3 separate regions of the Homo sapiens genome follow, and all the other regions are linked to region 1. Evidence: promoter capture Hi-C in human tissues and cell types (Jung and others, 2019). All regions are on one chromosome and are shown on one strand. Each heading gives the region's core, a stretch centred on a gene start or on the middle of the fragment in contact. The rest is flanking DNA. Distances are from core to core; before and after follow the strand shown. Region 1 holds the start of AFG3L2 (AFG3 like matrix AAA peptidase subunit 2). Region 2 overlaps LOC107985173 (a long non-coding RNA gene). Region 3 overlaps LDLRAD4 (low density lipoprotein receptor class A domain containing 4).

What was found. Contacts are between HindIII fragments. The study calls those that stand out against the background at their distance.
Region 2: a contact is called between a fragment that was not itself captured here and the fragment with the promoter of AFG3L2 in region 1, in 1 of the 25 tissues and cell types used here (lymphoblastoid cells).
Region 3: a contact is called between a fragment that was not itself captured here and the fragment with the promoter of AFG3L2 in region 1, in 1 of the 25 tissues and cell types used here (dorsolateral prefrontal cortex).

The regions. Positions count from the first base shown.
Region 1 is chr18:12,375,442-12,378,970 of GRCh38, forward strand. It overlaps AFG3L2 (AFG3 like matrix AAA peptidase subunit 2), which reads right to left and starts at 1,786. Exons shown (of 17, transcript NM_006796.3): 1 at 1,528-1,786. The coding sequence starts at 1,641. RefSeq lists a silencer at 1,351-2,250 and enhancers at 2,023-2,554, 2,555-3,084. The HindIII fragment of the contact is 16,096 bases long and covers 1-3,529 here.
Region 2 is chr18:11,369,863-11,373,391 of GRCh38, forward strand. The region is part of intron 1 of LOC107985173 (a long non-coding RNA gene); the gene reads right to left. Among named protein-coding and RNA genes, the nearest start is that of LINC01928, 83 kb to the right of the region's middle. The HindIII fragment of the contact is 4,274 bases long and covers 1-3,529 here.
Region 3 is chr18:13,379,582-13,383,110 of GRCh38, forward strand. The region is part of intron 2 of LDLRAD4 (low density lipoprotein receptor class A domain containing 4); the gene reads left to right. Among named protein-coding and RNA genes, the nearest start is that of LDLRAD4-AS1, 46 kb to the right of the region's middle. RefSeq lists enhancers at 235-736, 737-1,236, 1,928-2,552. The HindIII fragment of the contact is 4,118 bases long and covers 1-3,529 here.

The sequences.
Region 1 (3,529 bases), core at 536-3,035:
CAGGAGCTGTGGCTCAGGTCTGTAATTCCAACACTTTGAGAGGAGGAGGCGGGAGGATCGCCTGGGTCCTGGAGTTCCAGGCCAGCCTGGGCAACTGGGCAAGATGGTGAACCCTATCTTTTGGGACGGAGTCTCGCTCTGTCGCCCAGGCTAGAGTGCAGTGGCCCGCTCTTGGCTCACTGCCAGCTCCACCGCCCAGGTTCACGCCATTCCCCTGCCTCAGTCTCCCGAGCAGCTGGGACTACAGGCGCCCGCCACCACGCCCGGCTAATTTTTTGTATTTTTAGTAGAGATGGGGTTTCACCGTGTTAGCCAGGATGATCTCGATTTTCTGACCTCGTGATCCACCCGCCTGCTGGGATTACAGCCGTGAGCTACCGCGCCTGGCCTCTCCAGAAACTTTTTAAAAATCAACCACGGTGCTGTAGTCCCAGATACTCCGGAGGCTGAGGCGGGAGGATCGCTTGAGTTTGGGGCTGCAGTGAGCTGTGTTTGCGCCGCTGCACTCCGGCCTGGGCGAAGAAGCAAAACCCCGTCTCTTAAAAAATAAAAATAAAAATAAAAATCGTAGATCGGAGGGTCTGCTACCCTACCCAAGCTGGTTTCCAACTCCTGGAGTCAAGCGATTCTCCCGCCTCGGCCTCCCTAAGTGCTGGGATCGCAGGCGTGAGCCCCGGCACTAGCCTATCTCCCCTTACAGTGAAGACGTTGAGCTGACTACAAGGGCGCTGGGATAGCAGGAGGCCAAGCCAGGTTCCCGTGGCCGACCCGGGGACCTCAACCACCACCCGTACACCAGTGCAAGGCTGAGGAACCGTGTCACTTAAACAGTGAGAGCGACTATTCGACACGTGAACCTTTCATTGAGACTGATCACGGCCATGGTTCTGTCAACACTCTATCATTATGTCAGAAACACGTATCAGGTCCCGTGTGTGTATCTAGAGGGATGGCTACCAACAGAGAAAGAGCCTCCTGCTGAGAGCAGGCCCTGATATGCAACGAACACAGAGTCCCTGCTATGAAAAGGTGACATTCTTAATAATAATAGCTAATACTGCCAGTCCTGGAATGCCCGCAATGGCCCCATTCAACAGACGGGAACACGGAGACTCGGAGAGGTTAGGCAGCCCGACTCCAAAACCCGTCCTTGCGACTACATCGTGCTCGTGCTGCTGACTCAAAATTACAGACGCCTTCGTTCCGTGCTCCGGGGACACGAAAGCGGGGACAAGGACGGCCACCAAGCCAACATGACCTTCGAGGCTTCAACCGCCCCGGTGAAGCGCGAAAACCCGGCTCTACTGAAGCTGCGCGTTTTCAAAACTTGAATCCCACAGGCAGGGCTGAGCGCGAATCGGCGCTCCCGGGGCCGGCTGAGAGACAGCGCAGGGCGCCCAGGCCCTCGGCAGGGACGGCCCGCGTGCGGCCGGAGGGCGGGGGCCAGTGACCTTGACGTCCGCTCTCCCGAGCCGGAAGTGGGCCCGAGGCAGGGTGGAGGGCGCCGGGCGCCCAGGTAGGACTCACCGTCCGGAGGCAGGGCTGCTCGCCCGGGCCCACGCCGCCAGGCACGAGGAGCTGCTGTAGGCCGCGGGGCCAGCAGCCGCCCCGGCCCCACAGCCGCAAACAGCGGTGCGCCATGGCCGCCGCCGTGGCCCTCTCGGCCCGGGACGCTGCGCAGGCGCGGGCAGGCGACGACTGGCGGCCTCGGGAAGCGGGCTCGGCTCGGGGAAAGGCCGCCAGGCAGCGAAGCGCGCCGGCGGCTCACGGAGGAGCCCAAGCTCTCAACGCGGCGTCTCCTGCCGCCAGCCCCGCCCCGGCGCGCTGACGTCGGCGTCTCCTCTCCGAGGCCCGCCGCGACCTCCGCCAGTGCAGAAGACAGGACCAAATGGGAGGAGCATGGGGGCGGGACCGGAGGCGGGGGCCGACGGAGCAGCGTTGGGGGCGCGGCAGGAGGCGGGGCCGAGAAGGACCCTGGAGGGCAAGGGGGAGCTAGAGGCGGGGACCGGGCCGAGGGAGGACTCGGGAGGGCGAGCGAGAGCTGGGGGCGGGGCTGATGGCGCACGTGGGGGGCGTGGCTGGAGGTGGGGCCGAGGAAGGACTAGGAGAGCGAGCAGGAGCTGGAGGCGGGGCCGACGGAGGGGTGTGGGGGGCGTGGCTGGAGGCGGGGACTAAGGGGAGACGCGTGACTGGGATCCTGGGCTTCCGAGCCTGGGCAGCCGGGTGGGCCAGCCAGTAGGAGCGAGGGGGAAGTAGCGAAGGCCCCAGCGGCGGCAGATGGAAGGACCCTCCGAGCGCCAGCTGAGTCATGGGGTGGTGCTAGGCTCTGGAGACACCGAAGCACACATTCCTGACCCCTGGGAGGGCGATGCGAAGATTCACAAGCAGCAGGGAATGTTGGGGCTGTGCCGTGCAGCCTGCGCTCTAGGAACCCTGTCGGGGAACTGGTTCTCGGAGAGCAAGTCGAGTCTTCCAGGTAGTGGAAACTACACATTGTTTCCTGTACCGTGACAGCGGAGGAAAAAGGAGAGGTCTTTGAACTGAGGTGGGGGACTTGGGGGTTTTTCTGAGACGGGCTCTCGCTCTGTCGCCCAGGCTGGCGACGCTGGACCTCAGGCAAAGGACAGTAATCCTTGAGAGACAGGAGACAAAACCAGGTGAGTCCTGTGATTACCCCAGTGGCAGTAAAACAATAACAAAAAGATATACCAGATACACCATCATACCATGCTCACACAAAAGAAAACTGAGTAGACAAATAGATTTTAGGGCAAGGAAATTCCAAAGAAAATTAATTGCAGGGAAAAGAATATCACTAAGGATGAAGAGGATCGGGTTTCTTTTCCAGAGACAGGGTCTCAGTCTGTCACTTAGGCTGGAATGCCATGGTGCAATCGTAGCTCACTGCAGCCTCTAACTCCTGGGCTCAAGGGATCCTCCTGCCTCAGCCTCCCAAGTAGCTGGGACCACACACGCTCGACCACACTCGACTTTTTTTATTTTGTGTAGAGTTGAAGTCTCACTTTGTTGCCCAGGCTAGTCTCAAACTCCTGGCTTTAAGCAATCCTCCTGACTCAGCCTCCCAAAGTGCTGGGATTACAGATGTGAGCCACCCACATCTGGCCAAGAGAATTATTATTATTATTATTATTATTATTATTATTATTATAAAGGGGTCAGTTCATCAGTAGGACATAACAACCCTAAACATCTTTGTTCCCATTAACAGAAGCTTAAAATACATGGAGCAAAGACTGACAGAACCACAACTTCCAATTATATTTGGAGATTTCAAATCCTTCTTTTGATAATTGACAGAACAATTAGACAGGAAAATAGTAAGTATATAGAAGACTTAAACACAACCAACTAAATCAAATAGACATTTATAGAAAACTACTCATAACAACAGAATACACATTATTTTCAAGTTTTCACAGAGCACTTATCAAAATAAACCATATTGTAGGCCATAAAAATATTAAGAGGAGTCAAGTCATATAAAACATATTTTCTATCCACAATGAAA
Region 2 (3,529 bases), core at 699-3,198, 1.0 Mb before region 1:
TTCGATGTGAGATTTCGGCGGGGACACTGAGGAACCTGAATGAGTTGTTGCTGCTGTTAGAAGGCTCCCCCAGCAAGAACTCACAACGGAAGAAGGAAAAGATATTTTACCTCCCTGCAATGCACTCAGGGTTCTTCCATGTGGTAGCATGTTAGAACCTCCTTTATAAGGCTGAGTAATATTCCATTGTATAGATATATCATATTTTGCTTATGCATTCATCCATTGATGGGCATAGATTATTTCTAACTTTTAGCTGTTGGATCAATTGATCCAAATAAATATTATGTGTATATATAAATATATATGTATATATAAATATACAGTGATTATTTTTTAGATTAAAAATACTTGTGAAATTTTTTTTTTTTTTTGAGACGAAGTCCCGCTCAGTCGCCCAGGCTGGAGTGCAATGGCGCCATCTCGGCTCACCGCAAGCTCCGCCTCCTGGGTTCACGCCATTCTCCTGTCTCAGCCTCCCGAGTAGCTGGCAGTACAGGCGCCCGCCACCACGCCCGGCTAATTTTTTTGTATTTTTAGTAGAGACGGGGTTTCACCGTGTTAGCCAGGATGGTCTCGATCTCTTGACCTCGTGATCCGCCCATCTCGGCCTCCCAAAGTGCTGGGATTACAGGCGTGAGCCACTGCATCCGGCCAAATACTTGTGAAATTTTTGTGAAATGTAACTTTGCAAACTGTAGAGATGAACATACAGTGTCTTCTTTGGAACCCTTAATACTGTGAATTATTTTAGTCAGTCCTAATATTGAACCATCTTCAACTTCTTAGAATGATTAATAATTTTTATTTTTTAACAAATTATTTCTGAAAAATAAGACATTAAAGTTAAAACTTTATAATTTTATAGTTATAAAATTCACATAAAAATGAGTTTTTCTATATTCTTTAAATTTATCAACTGTTAACCTCTTACTATATTCATTCCCTGCTGCTTAGAGTTATATTTACTAAACTATTAGAGAGGAAGTTGCAGGTATCATTAACCTATTCCTCTAAATGCTTCAACATCTATGTACTAAAAACCAGATTATTCTCTTACACAATCACAGGGACAATTATCAAATTAGGAAATTGTTAATATTGACTCAATGCTATTATTTAAACGACAGTCTCCATTTAAATTTTGCCATTGTCCCCACAATGTTTTTTACAGCTTTTATTCCTCTGATCCAGGATCCAACCCAATCTGGTGCATTCAATTTAGTTGTCTTGTCCCTTTAGCCTGTTTTAATGTGGACACGTTTCTCCGGATTTATTTTTCTTTCATGACAGTGAAATTTTGAGTAATACAGGTCAATAGCTTACAGATTGCCCCTCAAATCTAGTCTTTCTGTTTCCTAATGATTAGACTCAGCTTATGCATTTTTAGCAGGAATACGGTAGAATTGACGCTGTGTCCTTTCAGCGCATCCCACCTATCAGGAGACATCGGATGTCAGTCTATCCATTTTTGGTCATGTGAACCTAGATACCATGATGCCTAAGAGGTTAAATTAACATTTTCTTTTTTGTAATTAATAAGTAATCTGTAGAGGTGGGCCAATACCCAAGATTACAAAGTATCTTTTTCTTATCTAAATTTTACCCATAAATTTTAGAATCTCTTAATGATTTTTGCCTGTATCAAATATTACTATGCTGGTTGCAACATAGTATTTCAAACTCTGTCATTTCTTTTGTATATTTATTGGTTGGCATTTTACTATAGGGAAGAGCTTTTGCCTCTTCTTAGCTCCTCCCTCTTGCTTTTCTTCCTTCCTTGCCCCGTCCTTGTGTTCCATGAACACATGAGTTCCTTTTACCACCAATGAGTTATAGTCCATTACTATCCTTATGTATTCTTTCATTGTACTGCCAGATCCATTTCTTAATGTTTTATTTATCTGCCATCAATATTTATAAGTGATACTGATCTATAGTCTTCCTGTTGTATACTACCTTTATCTGGTTTTAGTAAAGCTTTTATTTAGGTGTGCTAAGAGTAATCAACAAACTCTTGAACAATCAAAGTAACAGAAAAATTCATCTGTTTCTTCTAAGTTTGGAAAAACTTTCTTACAAAAGTTTTGAAAATGAGTAAATCTTTTGGTCTCTCTCTGTCAGTTTCATCAGTTGTGTGGTTATACTTTCATTTTATCCTAGATTTAATCTTGTCTAGTACTGATTGAGGTATTCTTTTATAAATATTTTATTTTTCTCAAATCTGGTTCTTTTTCTCTTCTCATTTCTAATTTGGCCTTCTTAATCTCTTCCTACTTACCTCTTGATTTAGCTATCTATTGAATTTTATTAGAATTATTATTTATTTTTCACTTAAATGTATAGCCCTTAATATATGTATCAATTCTATCTTTTTTTTTACTTACAATATACAACTTTATTAATTTTTCCCTTCTGCTTTTCCTAGGTTTGTTTTCCACTACTTTTTTACAAGCTAAGTTTTATTTTAAATTAGATTTTCCTCTGAGAAATAAGGTTTGGCAGTAAGTCATGAATTTTCATTTGGAATGCTCCTACTATCATTATTTTCAAAATATTCTGCAATTTCAGACTTGACTTCCTTTTTGGTCCTAAGGTTGTTTTTAAGCCGTTTTTATAATTTCAAAATGAGTGGGATTTTACTATTTTGTTTTTACAGTTGGTATTTATAATATTATTTCATAGCCAGAGATACGTAATTTTTACTCTTATTTTCTGTTTGTTTGTAATATAATATATTACTAGTTGTTATCAGTTCAGTGTCTGTTTATAAGGTGTACATTTAAATGTATTTTAGATACTTGATAAACCTTATCTCATTCAAATATTCTGTAGAGGTACTTATTATATATTTGATCATGAAGGACTGAGAAAAAGGTGTGTTAAACTCTCCTATTTGTGCTTTGTGTTGCTCTCTCTCTTTATAATGTATAATACTCCATACCAAAATAAAAAGAACTTTTCATGACTGAAATTTAACTTTATATTACATCCTCTGCTTTATATTTTATTTAAGTTTGCCTGTTGGTTCTCTGTTCAGTTTGTTATTGAGTAGATCAAATTTAACAGATGAAATGAAGCGAGGCCCAGACAAAAATGTGAGTGGGCAAAGACCAGGCTGCCTCTGTCCTCCCCTCCCGTCTTCTCCCACCCGGCAGAGTTCCTGCCACTGAGCTTTCCCTGCACAGATGAAAAGTAGTTAGGATGGAGGTTAGGGGTTAATGGGCTGCAAGAAGCCTTATCCCCCTAAGAGGTTTTGTCTAATTAAATAATTCAAACTTAAAGCTGTTGGAACTTTAAATTATTCTGAGCTTTGAAAGAAATGTGGCTATGTAGTAGCTTGAGTCATGTGACATGCAACTACAACTTCTGCACTTTTTTCCTGTAAATAGTTAGGAAGACAAAAAGGCACCTGAGATAAGACCTCCTCAGACCACTGCCCCTCATCAAAGAGTAATCAAGTAATCTTCCTTGGGATGTAGCAATCTGTAAGCAATCAAATTACTTGCTGTATATGTACTGATCCTGT
Region 3 (3,529 bases), core at 632-3,131, 1.0 Mb after region 1:
AATAGTGCCTGCCAGAGTAATGACCCCACAAATAGCTGTTGAAATACTGAATGAAGAGATGCAGCTTTGGTGGCGTCCTGCAGGCCAGAGAGCAGGGAAGACTGTGGGCCGGCACAGGTGTCCCAGGGAAGCCTGCTGTGAGCTGACAGCAAGGAGTGGCTTGGCAAGGGAGATGAAAATTGTTTCGTACAAACAGCTTGTCGGTTCATATTCTTTTCTATTCCCACCAAAGAATGAGACAGCTCCCCCTCCCTTCCTGCCCACACTTGTTAGCCTATGGTCTGACCCCCTTCTTGTTTGCCTGTCATGCCCATTTTAAGCTGATTTTATCTGAAGAAAGCTGGAGTGGGGGAGATCCCTGGGTGTGGAGGATTGCAGAGGCCTGCCCCTGCCCGCCAGCCCCCTGCCCGCCAGCCCCCTGCCCGTCAGCCCGAGCCCTCACGCCAGGCCACAGTGGGAGCAGAACCTCTACGGGGGTGGGGCTGGGTTGGGAGGGGCATTGCCGCTGCTTGGCTGGTGGCCACAGTGGAGGTGTCTGTGATGTGCTCAGACCGGGCTCAGACCAGAATGCACGTCTGCTCAGGGATCATCTGCCCCTGGGCCAAGCCCTGACCCTTTCCCATTCCCTTGTGCATGTGGGTGCTGTGGGAATGGCCTGGTTCGGGCCCTGGAAAGCAGAGATCTTCCCAGTATTCCCTGATTCCCAGCGAGCGGCTGGTGCAGGTGTGCACGGCTGTCTTCCTAGCATTGCAGGCTCTCCCTCCTGAGCCAGTGTCTCCTGTGGCCGCTGTGTGTAGACAGTGGAACTGGAAGCTTGGGCCAGGATCCAGACACCTGGTTCCAGCCCTGGCTTGCATTCCTCCCACACTCATCTTCAACCTGTCCCCTCTCCCTGAGCCTCTGGATCGCCTCCTCCACAAAGCACAGGGGTCGGATATATGACTCCTTGCGGCTTCCTCTGCTGCTAGATCATATGAGTCGATAATTATAGACTTACTAATGCATTAAGGACAGTTATCCTGTTTATTTTAGGGGGAACTCTCTCCAACTTGGTTTGAATATAGCCTCAGGATTTATCAAGTGTTGGATTTGTCAAGGTGACATTTTAAAGAATGTTCTAATATAATTATTGCTTTTCCTGTTTGCAGCCTGTGTGTGTCTTTGAATCGATGTTTTGGGTTTTGTACTTGCTTCCTGAATTGGTGACCTACAGCAAGGCACTACGCTACCCTGAACTACATTATGCTGAACAAGTAACCAGATCCCACTGAGCTACCCAGGGTGAGGATGGCTTGGAGGTTGTGTTACAAAAGCTACATGTTATTTTGCCCCCCCACATCACAGAGATGAAAAGTAGCATGAAAAATTCATCACACTCCAACTCAGTCTTCCCTGGCTATAGGCAGCCTGTTTCTCTGACTTGCTCTCAGATTTGCATTTCCATGTGGATTTTCTGTGCTTCTGCACTGTGTCCCTTTCTTTTGTTTCTCTTTAGTTTTTTTTTTTTTTTTGAAGAGACAGGGTCTTGCTATGTTGCCCAGGCTGGAGTGCAGTGGTGCAGTCACAGCTCACAGCAGCTTTGAACTCATGGGCTCAAGCAGTCCTCCTGCCTCAGCCTCCCCAGTATAGGTGTGCACAGCCATGCCCAGCTAATTTTTATATTTTTAGTAGATATGGGGACTTTCTATGTTGGCTAGGTGGGTTTCAAACACCTGGGCTCAAGCAATCCTCCTGCCACAGCCTCCCAAAGCACTGGGGTTACAGGCGTGAGGCACCGTGCCCGCCCACTGTATCCTTTTTTATGCCCATTTGCCCTCTCTCTCGGCCAGAGACATGGCCATAGGGGACTTTTTGGAATGGGAGGGACCTCCAGTTTCACCTCCTCATTGTATAAAAGAGGAGATGGGAGCCAGGGCCGGGAGTCACCACGGGTACCAGAAGCAGAGTGGGTCCCCTACCTGGGGCTCTCTGCCTACGGCTGGCTGCCTGGAGGCAGAGGTGTTTTATTTGTAGCACCTCCTTTTCTTTACTGTTAGGAGATCTTGAGACTGACTGGCCGTTGCCAAGGTCTGCACTATCCATGAGCTCTGAGGCACTCACATGGAGACGTGTGACATCTCCCTTGGTGGGACACCTGGTCCCAGCTCAAGTTGGAAATAGCTTCTCAAGGGTCTTTTCCCCACTTTTTCTCCCATCTGTCTCATGACAAGCCCTTTGCCTCTTTGATCCTAAATGAACATAGGGTGAGATGATGCATAGGTGAGCTGTGCCGTGCAGCTCTCAAACATGGTCATTTTTATTTTTTTTAAATTTTGCAGCAGAGCCCCAGTTTGCCGAGGTTTAGAATGACCTCTTTGGTTGGCAGCGTTCCTTTCTCCCTGGAACTTCTCTGGTGGGTAGAGTGGCCAGGGATCGGCATCCACAGGCCGGGGCTCGGCCCTGAGCGTCTGTGGGGCCTGGAGCAGTCGCCATGGCTGTGGAGCTGTCACCTAGGTAACCGACATTCCGCCAGCGAAACAGTCTGTCCACAGCAGGAGGAAATAAAAAATGAAACTGCAGCGTCAATTCTTTATGCACTACGGTTTTTTGAGTGCTACTTTGATTTTGGAAAAAAGGCTGTTTCACTTCTCCATTGGATTTTGGCCTCCGTGCCCCTGTGTGACCCTCACATTTCCTGAACCCCATGTATCTGTTTTTACAGTGTCTTTTAATGAAAGATATAATACGGACACAGTTCAGTTTGTATTCCTGAATGACTCTGAGGAGGACTGCGTTTCATATAAGTTTTTGTGAATAACTGGTAAGGCAGACATACCCTGTAACTTACTTGGTTAGGTTTGTGAGTGTTCATGTTTTTAAAATGTCCCTTCCTGTGGGGGTGTTTTTCCATTTGACGTGCTCTATTTCCTTAGTAACTGTTGCTCTGTTATGGGAGGGACTTAATGACATTTTTCAAGTGCAATATTGAATTAATTTATTTCCTGGTTAGTCCTGCCCATCTTCCCAGTATAAATAGAACCTCCATGTGTGTGTGCGTGTGTGTGTGCGTGTGTGTGCGTGTGTGCATGTGTGTGCGTGTGTGTGTAGAATGATGACCATGTGCTTGCTGCCTTGGGGGGGATCTTGACTGTGACCTTGCGTCCTGGGTAAGTTGCCTCTTCCTGTATTCCCCCCTCTCCTTCTCTCTTGATTTAAGCTACTTGGGTTTAGGGAGCTTCCTGGGCCTCAGGAGTAGCATGGGAAGCAGTGCCTTCAGGGCAAGAGGCCCAGGGTCAGTCCTGCTCTCCTGCTGCCAGTGTTGGGCGCAGTTCTTGCGCCTCCATGGGGCAGCGCTTGCTCTCTCTCTGTAGCCTGAGGGCATTTAAGTCAATGACCTCTGAAGGCCTTTGCTGGATAGGACTTTGTGGGAAGTGTAAGTGCAGCAGGCTCACCACTTGTAATCATCATCTCAACTCTTCTAGTGGGGTGGTGGGAAAACCAGCCCGGAGGGTCCCAGCCAAGCAGGCTGAGGAGCAGCACCTCCACCTGG